Linked DNA regions of Homo sapiens: regions 2 and 3 are each linked to region 1. The links are contacts of gene promoters, found by promoter capture Hi-C in blood cells and fetal thymus (Javierre and others, 2016). All regions are on one chromosome and are shown on one strand. The core of a region is centred on a gene start or on the middle of the fragment in contact, and the rest is flanking DNA. Distances in the headings are between cores, read along the strand shown.

Evidence for each region. Contacts are between HindIII fragments. The CHiCAGO score rates a contact against its expected background, and 5 or more counts as called.
Region 2: a fragment that was not itself captured here is called in contact with the fragment with the promoter of SASS6 in region 1 in 1 of 17 cell types (fetal thymus); the score reaches 5.2 in fetal thymus.
Region 3: a contact is called between the fragment with the promoter of NRAS here and the fragment with the promoter of SASS6 in region 1, in 1 of 17 cell types (total B cells). The highest score is 5.9, in total B cells.

The regions. Positions count from the first base shown.
Region 1 is chr1:100,130,955-100,134,278 of GRCh38, reverse strand. It overlaps SASS6 (SAS-6 centriolar assembly protein), which reads left to right and starts at 1,349. Exons shown (of 17, transcript NM_194292.3): 1 at 1,349-1,529. The coding sequence starts at 1,465. TRMT13 (tRNA methyltransferase 13) reads right to left here and starts at 1,116. Exons shown (of 11, transcript NM_019083.3): 1 at 964-1,116. The coding sequence starts at 1,110. RefSeq lists enhancers at 902-1,431, 1,442-1,561, 966-1,568 and a silencer at 1,564-1,727. The HindIII fragment of the contact is 1,832 bases long and covers 1,170-3,001 here.
Region 2 is chr1:88,684,612-88,688,044 of GRCh38, reverse strand. It overlaps PKN2 (protein kinase N2), which reads right to left. Exons shown (of 22, transcript NM_006256.4): 1 at 3,417-3,433. It overlaps PKN2-AS1 (PKN2 antisense RNA 1), which reads left to right and starts at 2,841. Exons shown (of 4, transcript NR_110682.1): 1 at 2,841-2,881. The HindIII fragment of the contact is 611 bases long and covers 1,531-2,141 here.
Region 3 is chr1:114,714,485-114,718,020 of GRCh38, reverse strand. NRAS (NRAS proto-oncogene, GTPase) reads left to right here and starts at 1,250. Exons shown (of 7, transcript NM_002524.5): 1 at 1,250-1,363; 2 at 1,844-1,971. The coding sequence starts at 1,861. CSDE1 (cold shock domain containing E1) reads left to right here. Exons shown (of 20, transcript NM_001007553.3): 20 at 1-1,105. RefSeq lists enhancers at 1,245-1,444, 1,455-1,554. The HindIII fragment of the contact is 3,751 bases long and covers 1-1,788 here.

The DNA of each region.
Region 1 (3,324 bases), core at 100-2,599:
ATCTCATATATATCCTAAAGTAATATACATATATACAAATATAAAGTGTTTGATAGTACATTTATATGCATAATTATCAAACAAAATTGTATGCTTTGTTCTCAATTGTAAAAGGTCAATTCGTATATATTTAAAAATCTTTCCTTCCCATTCCAGCAAAGTTGCATTCTTAAAAACTGTAAGTCGAAAAAAATTTTTTTTTCTTTTTTGAGATTCAGTCTGGCTGTCACCCAGGCTGGAATGCAGTGGTGTGATCTTGGATTATTGCCACCTCCACCTCCTGGGTTCAAGCGATTCTCCTGCCTCAGCCTCCCGAGTAGCTGGGGTTACAGGCTCGCACCACCACGATTTTCTTAATTTTAGTAGCTCGCGCCACGGCTGATTTTCTTATTTTTAGTAGAGAGAGGGTTTCATCATGTTGGCCAGGCTGGTCTCGAGCTCCTGACCTCAAGTGATCCGCCCGCCTCGGCCTCCCAAAGTGCTGGGATTACAGGCGTGAGCCACCGCGCCGGGCCTCAAGTCTAAATTTTTAAAAGAAAGTTTCTTCCAACCGCATTCACGAGAAGTGCTTCTCTTTCATGAAATAACAATTAGAACACAACTAGTGAAACCTTTGGGACTTCAATCACTACTTTTTCTAAACTACCACTTTCCAGCAGGAAGACGGAGCGGTAGCTTGGGGTAAAAATTAAAACCTAGCATTACCATGAGTTAAGATCGAGATAAATAGATCAAAATAAATGGGTCACTGCTGGCGCTTTACTTAGAAAAATAAAAAATTTCTCATCACTAGAACTCATAATCGCTCCGCAAGGAGGGCAAAACTGGGTTTATTAAAGTGAAAGCTGGAGAATCCAGGGGACACAAGCAGAAAGCTGTCAAAGAGGGGAGGGGCCGGGTTCCAGCACCGACAGGACCAGGATACTTATTTCCGACTCTTGAGAGAGTAGGGCGATACCACACCTCCGCGGCTCCAGCGTGTTCACCACAAAATCTTTTCCCTGCGGCCACCACCATCCTGCAGAACCGTTTCTTCTTTTCCACATAGTAACCGCATCTACCCTCAGCTGGAAAACCAGGCGCGTGCGGCGACGTCGCGGAGGTCGCCATAATTCTAGGGCTCGCTTCCGGTGTCCAGCATCCGGCAACCAGAAGAAAAGTTAGAAGCTTCCTTCGGGTCTCCTTCCCTTAACAAACATGGCTGCCTCAGCCCCCGCGCCACACAGGTTAATACCCGGAACTACCACAACCGTCTTCCCTTTATCCTCCGCAGAACCGGAAGAATCCGATGGTGGCTGGCGAGGGCCAAGTCTCTTACGCCTTCCCCTCGTTTCTCCCTCCCCGCCTCCTCCGCAGAAGCCGAGCGCCAAACTCAAACTTTATCAGGACCCGGACCTCTCAGGCTAATCCCGAGGGCCGGGCCTGTTGGGCTTTTCTGCACACCAGCCGAGGCAGCGAGCCAACATGAGCCAAGTGCTGTTCCACCAACTAGTCCCGTTGCAGGTGAAATGCAAAGACTGTGAGGAGAGGTAAGGTCCGCGTCATCCAGTGCCCGCGGGTGGCGGTTGGGGTCAGGCCAATGGGGAAAGATGGCGGTTCTGGCCCGTGGGATCCACCTTGCACCTAGGTGTCGAGTCGGCCCCCCTAGGAAGCGGATAGGGAACCCAGAGGGCCCGGTGGTTACCTCTCTCACCAAGTCGGCCGTTGCAGAGGGGACTGGAGGAAGGGTGTGAGGAGTTAGGAAGCCGGCTCACATCAAGTTAATGTCAAAAACCCTACCTGTGCACGGAATCGTGAAGATTATAGCCCTACTCTTCCCTTTTGACAGATAAGAACTCTGGCCCAGAGAAGTTAAAAAAATTTACGTGAGGGCTCACAGCCAGTTCATGGCAGGGTCAGGACTAGAACTCAGGCCTTGGCTCCGAGCCTTTCCCCCTCGTTCTCTTTTGAAGTATGTTGGCAGTAAAGTTCAACTTTTAAAAACCTACCAATTTGGTGGCGTACTTTGGCTCTTCACATCAGTTGCTTTAAAAAAGTAAATTACATTTAACCGACTAAAAATGAGAAAAGCAGAAACGTCATTAATTCATTCAATAAATATTGCCTCCTTGTAAAACACCTTACTGGGCACTGGGAATACAGTGGTCAGGAAAAACAGTCCTTTTCTTCATGGAGTTTACAATCACTGGAGGAAATAAAGACCAGTCGCACAGAGAAGTGCAACTTTGATTAAGGAGGTGGTATTATTGGGGCGTAAATAGATTTGACCAGAGGTCAGGAGACTTACTTTTTTTTTCTCAGTTCTAACACTCAATGGTTGTCTCTTTTTTTCTCTGAACGTTCTTTCCTCATTTGTAAAACTGATATAACATGCGTATTCACGTGTTTGTAATGAGGATCAGGTGTGAAATCTTTTGCGTATTCACGTGTTTGTAATGAGGATCAGGTGTGAAATCGTATGTGAAAACTAAGTGGTGTACAAATGTAACATAAAAAATGAAGACATTGCCTTATTGAGTTGCCAGTAATGTCAAACTGTAGTATATATAGTTCAGAATTCGGTCAAAAATCAATGGCAAGCCGGTCAAGGAGATGGTCCCAAAACCAGCAGCTGCATATGGAGATCTGTAGGTTTAGTTGATCATTCTTTTAATGCTGTCCAGTATGGTAGCCACTAGCCACATGTGGTTATTAGACATTTGAAATGGGGCTTATCTGAATTGTTGTGCTTTACATATGAAAATGCACGTTGGATTTTTAAGACTTACTATGAAAAAAGAATGTAAAATATGTCAATTTTTATATTATGTGTTAAATGGCAATATTTTTGGGTATATTGGGTTAAATACAATGTATTATTAAAATTAATTTCACCTGCTTTTAAAAGTCTTTTTAAAATGTGACTTCTAGAAAATTTAAAAGTAGGCTAGGTATGGTGGCTCACACCCGTAGTCCCAGCACTTTAGGAGGCCAAGACAGGAGGATTGCTTGAGCCTAAGCTTGAGGTTACAGTGAGCTACTATTTGTGCCACTGTACTCCAGCCTGGGTGATAGAGCGAGATCCTGTCTCTGAAAAAAAAAAAAGAAAAAGAAAAAAATTAAAATTACATACCTGGCTCACATTTGTGGCTTACATTGTATCTCCATTGGACAACACTGTTTTAGAATGATTATAGAAAGATAAAGGAGGCCATGACTTTGGTTTCAATATGGAAACTCCTAGATGGTCTCTTTCTGGTTACATTGCCATCACAGTTAATCTAAAAACTCAATTTCTCTGCTTAGAAACCTTTAATATATTCCTATTATCTGTATAATAGGGGT
Region 2 (3,433 bases), core at 587-3,086, about 11 Mb after region 1:
CACACAATGTAACCATGAGCAATTTCCTTAACATTCTTGAACTTGTTTCCTGATCCACAACATGGAAATAACACCTACCTTATTGGATTGTTGTGAAGATCAAATAAGGTGTATAGGACACTAAGTACAATGTCTGATATATAGCAAATAATTTTTAAAATGTTATTTGTAGTCTCTTATAATTATCTTCTAGTACAATTATCTATACTCTCTTCTGGAAAGCAAAAACCTATCTTGTCATCTTTATATCCTCCAATATAGCTTTGGTAGATACTACATAACTGTTTGGTGAAATTAACCCCTGTAATTTAAGGGTAACTATCTCAACTTTCCACTTGAGCAAGTTACCTCTATCTAAATAAAATCTGCTGAGAATGGAATTTAAGATTCCCAGACCAACACTTTATTGGGCATTTTGATGAAGAAAATGAATCTCCAATAATCAACAAGGTAGCTTTGTTAGTACACTGCTCAATATTTGGTCTGCATTCTACAAAATTACCATTGTAGCCAACACTTTCATTCTGAGATTCTTTACAGTTTTCATTAATCCAGGTTTCTTGGAAATAGACTTTAGTTTCTTTGGCATTGCAAAAATGTCTGTTTTCTGCTATACTTCAAATAAAAAAAGAGAATACAACACAACAAATTAGTTATGAGATAAAAATTAGAAATTGGCCATTTTAAACAGCCGATTTTTATTTTTACTACAGTAAATATTCTTCCTTATACCTTGAAACCTCTAGCCACCAAAGTTTACATAGTTTATTAATGCTTCCTTGTTGAATAAGCCTCCTGAATTACTAACAATACTTAAAAACATTACTCCATGCTATTACAGTAATTAACAAGACAGAATACTGTAGTTTCAGATTTTCTTACTTTGCCTTTCCATGACCAAAAGCCAATTCCAGCTCAAGCAGTGGAGTATTTCAAATTCTACAATTTGAAAAAATAATGAAAAGCTGGATATATTTCTAAATAAATATCAATTTTATTAAAGCCAGGTTGTAATATGTAACTTTCAGAGTAAACAAGTATTCCTGAGACAGGATACATAGCAAAGTAACAGTTTTAACCATTAAATACATCTTAAAACTGGCTACAAAACTTCTTAAATACTTAAAATCTGTATGGCAGAGAAGAATTAAGAACTTCATATTAAACAGTATTTCAGTCTAAATTCAAACAATTTAGAAGCTTTTTAAAAAAGTGAATCTTGAAACAAAAGTTTAATAAATACTTGGTTGCTGTACACTAAGTTTCAGGACCCAATGAAATAAAAAGTCTGAATAGATGGAAATATTTGGAGAAGCAAACTTTATGACTATTTATCTTTAAGTGTTGATATAAGTAATAGTCGCAAACATTTTAATAAACACGATAAAGTTTAAATGCAATAACTTTTATCAAAACTGGGAGTCAAATAAACCAAGAAAATGACTTGGATATATGACAACCTATAAGGTAACACTTAATAAAAACTATTCTTTTTCTGGAAGGGGTTATATTTCAGTTTATCTAGAAGCTTAACTTTAGGTATTCCTCTATTTTGGTCGTATTTCTAGGTCATCATATTTAAAATTTCTTCCTTCTTTGCTTGCTTCCTTGTTATTATCAAAATTGATCTTATTAATTAAAAGATCCTAAATGTTATTAATACACATGAAAATATATTTTCAGTTCCAGTGCCAAAGTAGGTGTCTTTTATGCCAACTTTCTATAACATACAAGTACCAATGCCAAATATATTGTAACTCTAACACTGCTCAATTCAAAAGAAAAGTGACCCTATCATCTTTCTCAATCAAAACCAAAGTATGTTTTTCATGGTTCAAGACCAGGCAATGTAAAGTATTTCTGACTTGCCTCACATCATCTTCATTTTAAAAGCTCATGTAAATTATTTACTATTAATAAAATAGTAAATTCCATTCATTTAGCAAATGTGGTATGCTGTAAGATCTGCTTATAAAAGGCTAACTGTAATTAAAATACTACATAGCAACATTTTCAATTATATGAAATTCAGCTTTGCATTACCAAAGGATTCTAAATGTGCAACACTGCATTGATATACATTGTTAAAGTCTCTATTTTTGTGGAGGAAATATCAACCATTATACCAAAGTTTTCAAGCTTACGTCTGACTGCACAAGAAACCAAACTTATAAAGAGATTTCTTAAAAAGTATATTTAAACAAGAAATTTAGATGCAGTTGCAATACTTAATTTTGACATCAACTCTTCAGAATTTCTTGATTTAGTCTTTTTTTTAAAAAAAATTAACTGTCCAACACACAAAAAGAAATGCAGGCATGCTATTTTTTTCTCCTAATTCCCATCTACAATCTTTGAGTAGCTAAAAGATAACTATATTAAAATAAAGCAAAATAACTTTTAAGTCAAAAAACAAACATCTCTGGAACACTCCCAAGTAATGAAAAACCCGACAGGGTAGCTTAAGTCCCCATGTACACCATAGAGATCTAAAGAAAATCGTGCCTACATTATCAAATATTTATCTGGAAATGGGAAATAACATTGCTACTCGACATGACTTAACTAAGCGATCTACTTTGCTCTCATCTTTTGCAGACATGTGGTGCCCAATGTTTTCCCTTAGTCGACTGCTTTCTCATTAGTAAACAACTTATTAGCTCTTTCTCTGGTGCTCAAATGAGAGGGAAAATGAAAGTCTGAAAAGCATCAGCATCTGAGCTCCCGGATCTGGGCAGGGGTAGCAGAGAAAGGCACCCTGTATTTATCACTCGGTTAAAAAAAAAAAAAGAAAGGAAAAGAAAAGAAAAAGATAACCCTCAAAATAGAGGAAAGAAACTCTGTCACCTGAAGAGGGCTGCTGAAGTGAAGCAAACATTTGGTGAGACTCGTTTTTTAAAAAAACTTGTCTAGGGGCTGGAAGTTATGGGGGCGCTCTTTGTGCGGAGTCTGAGGGGAGGGGGAGGGACAAGAAAACAGCTTGGGAGTCATTCAAAGGAGTTTAAGGAGCGGTGTACGGAGGAAAGGCGGGGCGGGGCCCGGCCGCGCGAAGGGAGGGGGCAACAGGGGCGTTCGCGGGTAGCTCTGACACCGAGGGAGGGGGCGACGGGCCGGCCTCTCCGGGGACCAGGCGAGAGCAGGCTCCCGCTGCAGCAGGGCTGCAGAGATGGGGTCCCCTCTGGTAGGCAGAATCAAACCAAAGCGGTGGCAGGCCAGGGCTTTGGCGGGGGAGAGGGTCCGGCTCCCCAGGGAAGCGGTTCCCCGAGGGAAGCATTTCCCGAGTGACATCCCGGAGTTTCCGCACTTAGCGGGCTAGGGGCGCGGCGGCCGCAGGGCTTTCCTCGGTCCCCGACGCCGCGCGGGGCTCTCTCCCTGTCTCCTCCGCCAGCGCCTCTCACCAGGGCCGCGGCCCTTACCTGCAGTTCCGTGAGCA
Region 3 (3,536 bases), core at 1-2,500, about 15 Mb before region 1:
GTTATGTTTAAAAAAATAAATAAATTTAAGAAAACCATTTTAAATAATGCACAGTTGCAGCCTGGAAAAACTTAAGGTGGCGCCTTATAGTATCAATTTTAGGAGCTTTATTTGGTGCATTTAACGCAACTGGTAATTGCAGAATCCACTTTGCCTGTGTAAGTGAAAAATATAGACTGTTATCTTGTTGGCCCTATGAAATTCTGCACTTTTCATTATATACTCTACCTTCATTAATTACTTCTGGCAAGATGTTCTGCCTTAGCACTCAGTTGCATTCTTTTCCTTTTTCTTCCTGTTCATTATGCTTTAATTCTGAGGACCATATGAGGGTAGAATATATTATCTTTTAAAAATTACAAAAATTTGTATAGGCAAACCATTTCTTAAAGTTGATGGCCAAATTTTAAAATGTTATTTTTCATATCATTTATAATCTTGTCACAATCCACTTAAAGAAGTTTGGTTATATTTCAGTGAAAATTTTCTTCCAGAGTAGGTTTTTTTTCGTGGGTTGGGGGGTAACTTTACTACAATTAGTAAGTATGGTGCAGAATTTCATGCAAATGAGGAGTGCCAGCAGTGTGATAATTTAAACATATTTAAACAAAAACAAAAAAAATGAATGCACAAACTTGCTGCTGCTTAGATCACTGCAGCTTCTAGGACCCGGTTTCTTTTACTGATTTAAAAACAAAACAAAAAAAAATAAAAAAGTTGTGCCTGAAATGAATCTTGTTTTTTTTTATAAGTAGCCGCCTGGTTACTGTGTCCTGTAAAATACAGACACTTGACCCTTGGTGTAGCTTCTGTTCAACTTTATATCACGGGAATGGATGGGTCTGATTTCTTGGCCCTCTTCTTGAATTGGCCATATACAGGGTCCCTGGCCAGTGGACTGAAGGCTTTGTCTAAGATGACAAGGGTCAGCTCAGGGGATGTGGGGGAGGGCGGTTTTATCTTCCCCCTTGTCGTTTGAGGTTTTGATCTCTGGGTAAAGAGGCCGTTTATCTTTGTAAACACGAAACATTTTTGCTTTCTCCAGTTTTCTGTTAATGGCGAAAGAATGGAAGCGAATAAAGTTTTACTGATTTTTGAGACACTAGCACCTAGCGCTTTCATTATTGAAACGTCCCGTGTGGGAGGGGCGGGTCTGGGTGCGGCCTGCCGCATGACTCGTGGTTCGGAGGCCCACGTGGCCGGGGCGGGGACTCAGGCGCCTGGGGCGCCGACTGATTACGTAGCGGGCGGGGCCGGAAGTGCCGCTCCTTGGTGGGGGCTGTTCATGGCGGTTCCGGGGTCTCCAACATTTTTCCCGGCTGTGGTCCTAAATCTGTCCAAAGCAGAGGCAGTGGAGCTTGAGGTAAGTTTATCTCATGCATAGTGTTCGGCTTTGGGCTGTGGAATGTTCAGGCGTTTCACTGATGCCAGAAATGGAGCAGAATCTATCAGCTGGAGACAAAGGCCTTGGGCGGGGGTCCTTCCATTTGGTGCCTACGTGGGGAGATCTTTGGAGACAGAAGGGAGAATGGGAAGGAGTTGCGGCCTGGAGGCTTCCTGCTAGAGCTGAGAAGCCTTCGGGGAGTAATAGGAAGGGGGATTTCCATTGCTTAGGCTGAGGGCGGGGCCCAAGGACTGTTGAAAAATAGCTAAGGATGGGGGTTGCTAGAAAACTACTCCAGAAGTGTGAGGCCGATATTAATCCGGTGTTTTTGCGTTCTCTAGTCACTTTAAGAACCAAATGGAAGGTCACACTAGGGTTTTCATTTCCATTGATTATAGAAAGCTTTAAAGTACTGTAGATGTGGCTCGCCAATTAACCCTGATTACTGGTTTCCAACAGGTTCTTGCTGGTGTGAAATGACTGAGTACAAACTGGTGGTGGTTGGAGCAGGTGGTGTTGGGAAAAGCGCACTGACAATCCAGCTAATCCAGAACCACTTTGTAGATGAATATGATCCCACCATAGAGGTGAGGCCCAGTGGTAGCCCGCTGACCTGATCCTGTCTCTCACTTGTCGGATCATCTTTACCCATATTCTGTATTAAAGGAATAAGAGGAGAGAAAGTAAAAAGTTATTTTGGGTATACATTCAGTTATGCAATAAGCTTAACGTGTTTATAGAGAACAGTTCATTTTTATTAGCTGCTGAAGTTTCTAAAACCTGTCCAGTTTTTAACAGTTCTGTAAACTATTGCAAACTCAGTGTTGAGTTCATTCATGAGTTTCTTCATATATAACAGCTCTATTACATGAGAAACACAGGCCATAGTAGCGAGACTGTCTGATTGTATGGGAGATAATAGGATGGAGATAAAGGATTCAGAGATGAGTGTTCTTCAATATTTATTTATTAGCTAGTTGAAGCAGCTGAGACCAGATGATTGGAGTAGCAAGAACTTGAGATTTTTAGTCTTTATGCCTAGGATTTTGGTCCCTGTTTGCAGTTTATTTAGTTGTGTGATATTGAGCAACTGAATCTCTCCCAACCTCATTTTCCTCATGTTTTAAATTACCATAAACTTGTCCTGCCTACCACACAGGGATGTTATGGAAAGTTAAATAATATATTTAAGTTATTTATGAATGGTAAAGCACTATGTAATAGTACTTAGGGATTCTATTGTTATTATGAGAGTTCATGGTACAGATTGTCTTCAGTAAGTGGCACCTAAGGCTCTTTAAATAAAGGGTTTTGCCGGACACGGTGGCTCACGCCTGTAATCCCAGCACTTTGGGAGGCTGAGGCAGGCGGATCACAAGGTCAGGAGTTCAAGACCAGCCTGATCAACATGGTGAAACCCCGTCTCTACTAAAAATACAAAAATTAGCTGGGTGTGGTGGCAGGCACCTGTAATCCCAGCTACTCAGGAGGCTGAGGCAGGAGAATCGCTTGAACCAGAGGCAGAGGGTGCAGTGAGCCGAGATCACACCACAGACCTCCAGCCTGGGCAACAGAGCGAGACTTCGTCTCAAAAAATAAATAAATAGATAAATAAATAAAGGGTTTTGTAATTTTGTTCAGTTTAGAAATGCCTAACTTTAGAGATTATTTTAATCAACACCTGGCCTCCCTACCATCTGGCTACTCGTGTTTAATTGATGAAAACTAACTCTAATGTAGCCACTATAAAAAATTGGTTGCTAACCCTTGGCAAAATCTTTATTTTGAGCTTAACAGCTTTAATATTTTACATGAAATGTTTAATATTTTAATTAAATATTTTTAAATGTTTGATTTATTGAGCAATTTACATAAGTAAAATACATAAATTTTATGTCTACAGCCCAGTGCTTTTTGCGTTTCTATATAGTCATGTAGCTACCACCCAGATAACAGTATAGAGCACTTCCAGTACTCCAGAGAGTTCTCCAAGTGTGATGACATTAAAATACAAGTAAAAGTCCTGTTGCCATAAAACCAAAATGAAAGTATTTTTTATATGATCTATGCATGTTTGTCTTCCTGAGAAATTAAACATAACTATACCTTGTTTGGAACCTTTAAGAATTTGATTCAGGAATATTTCCCAAAG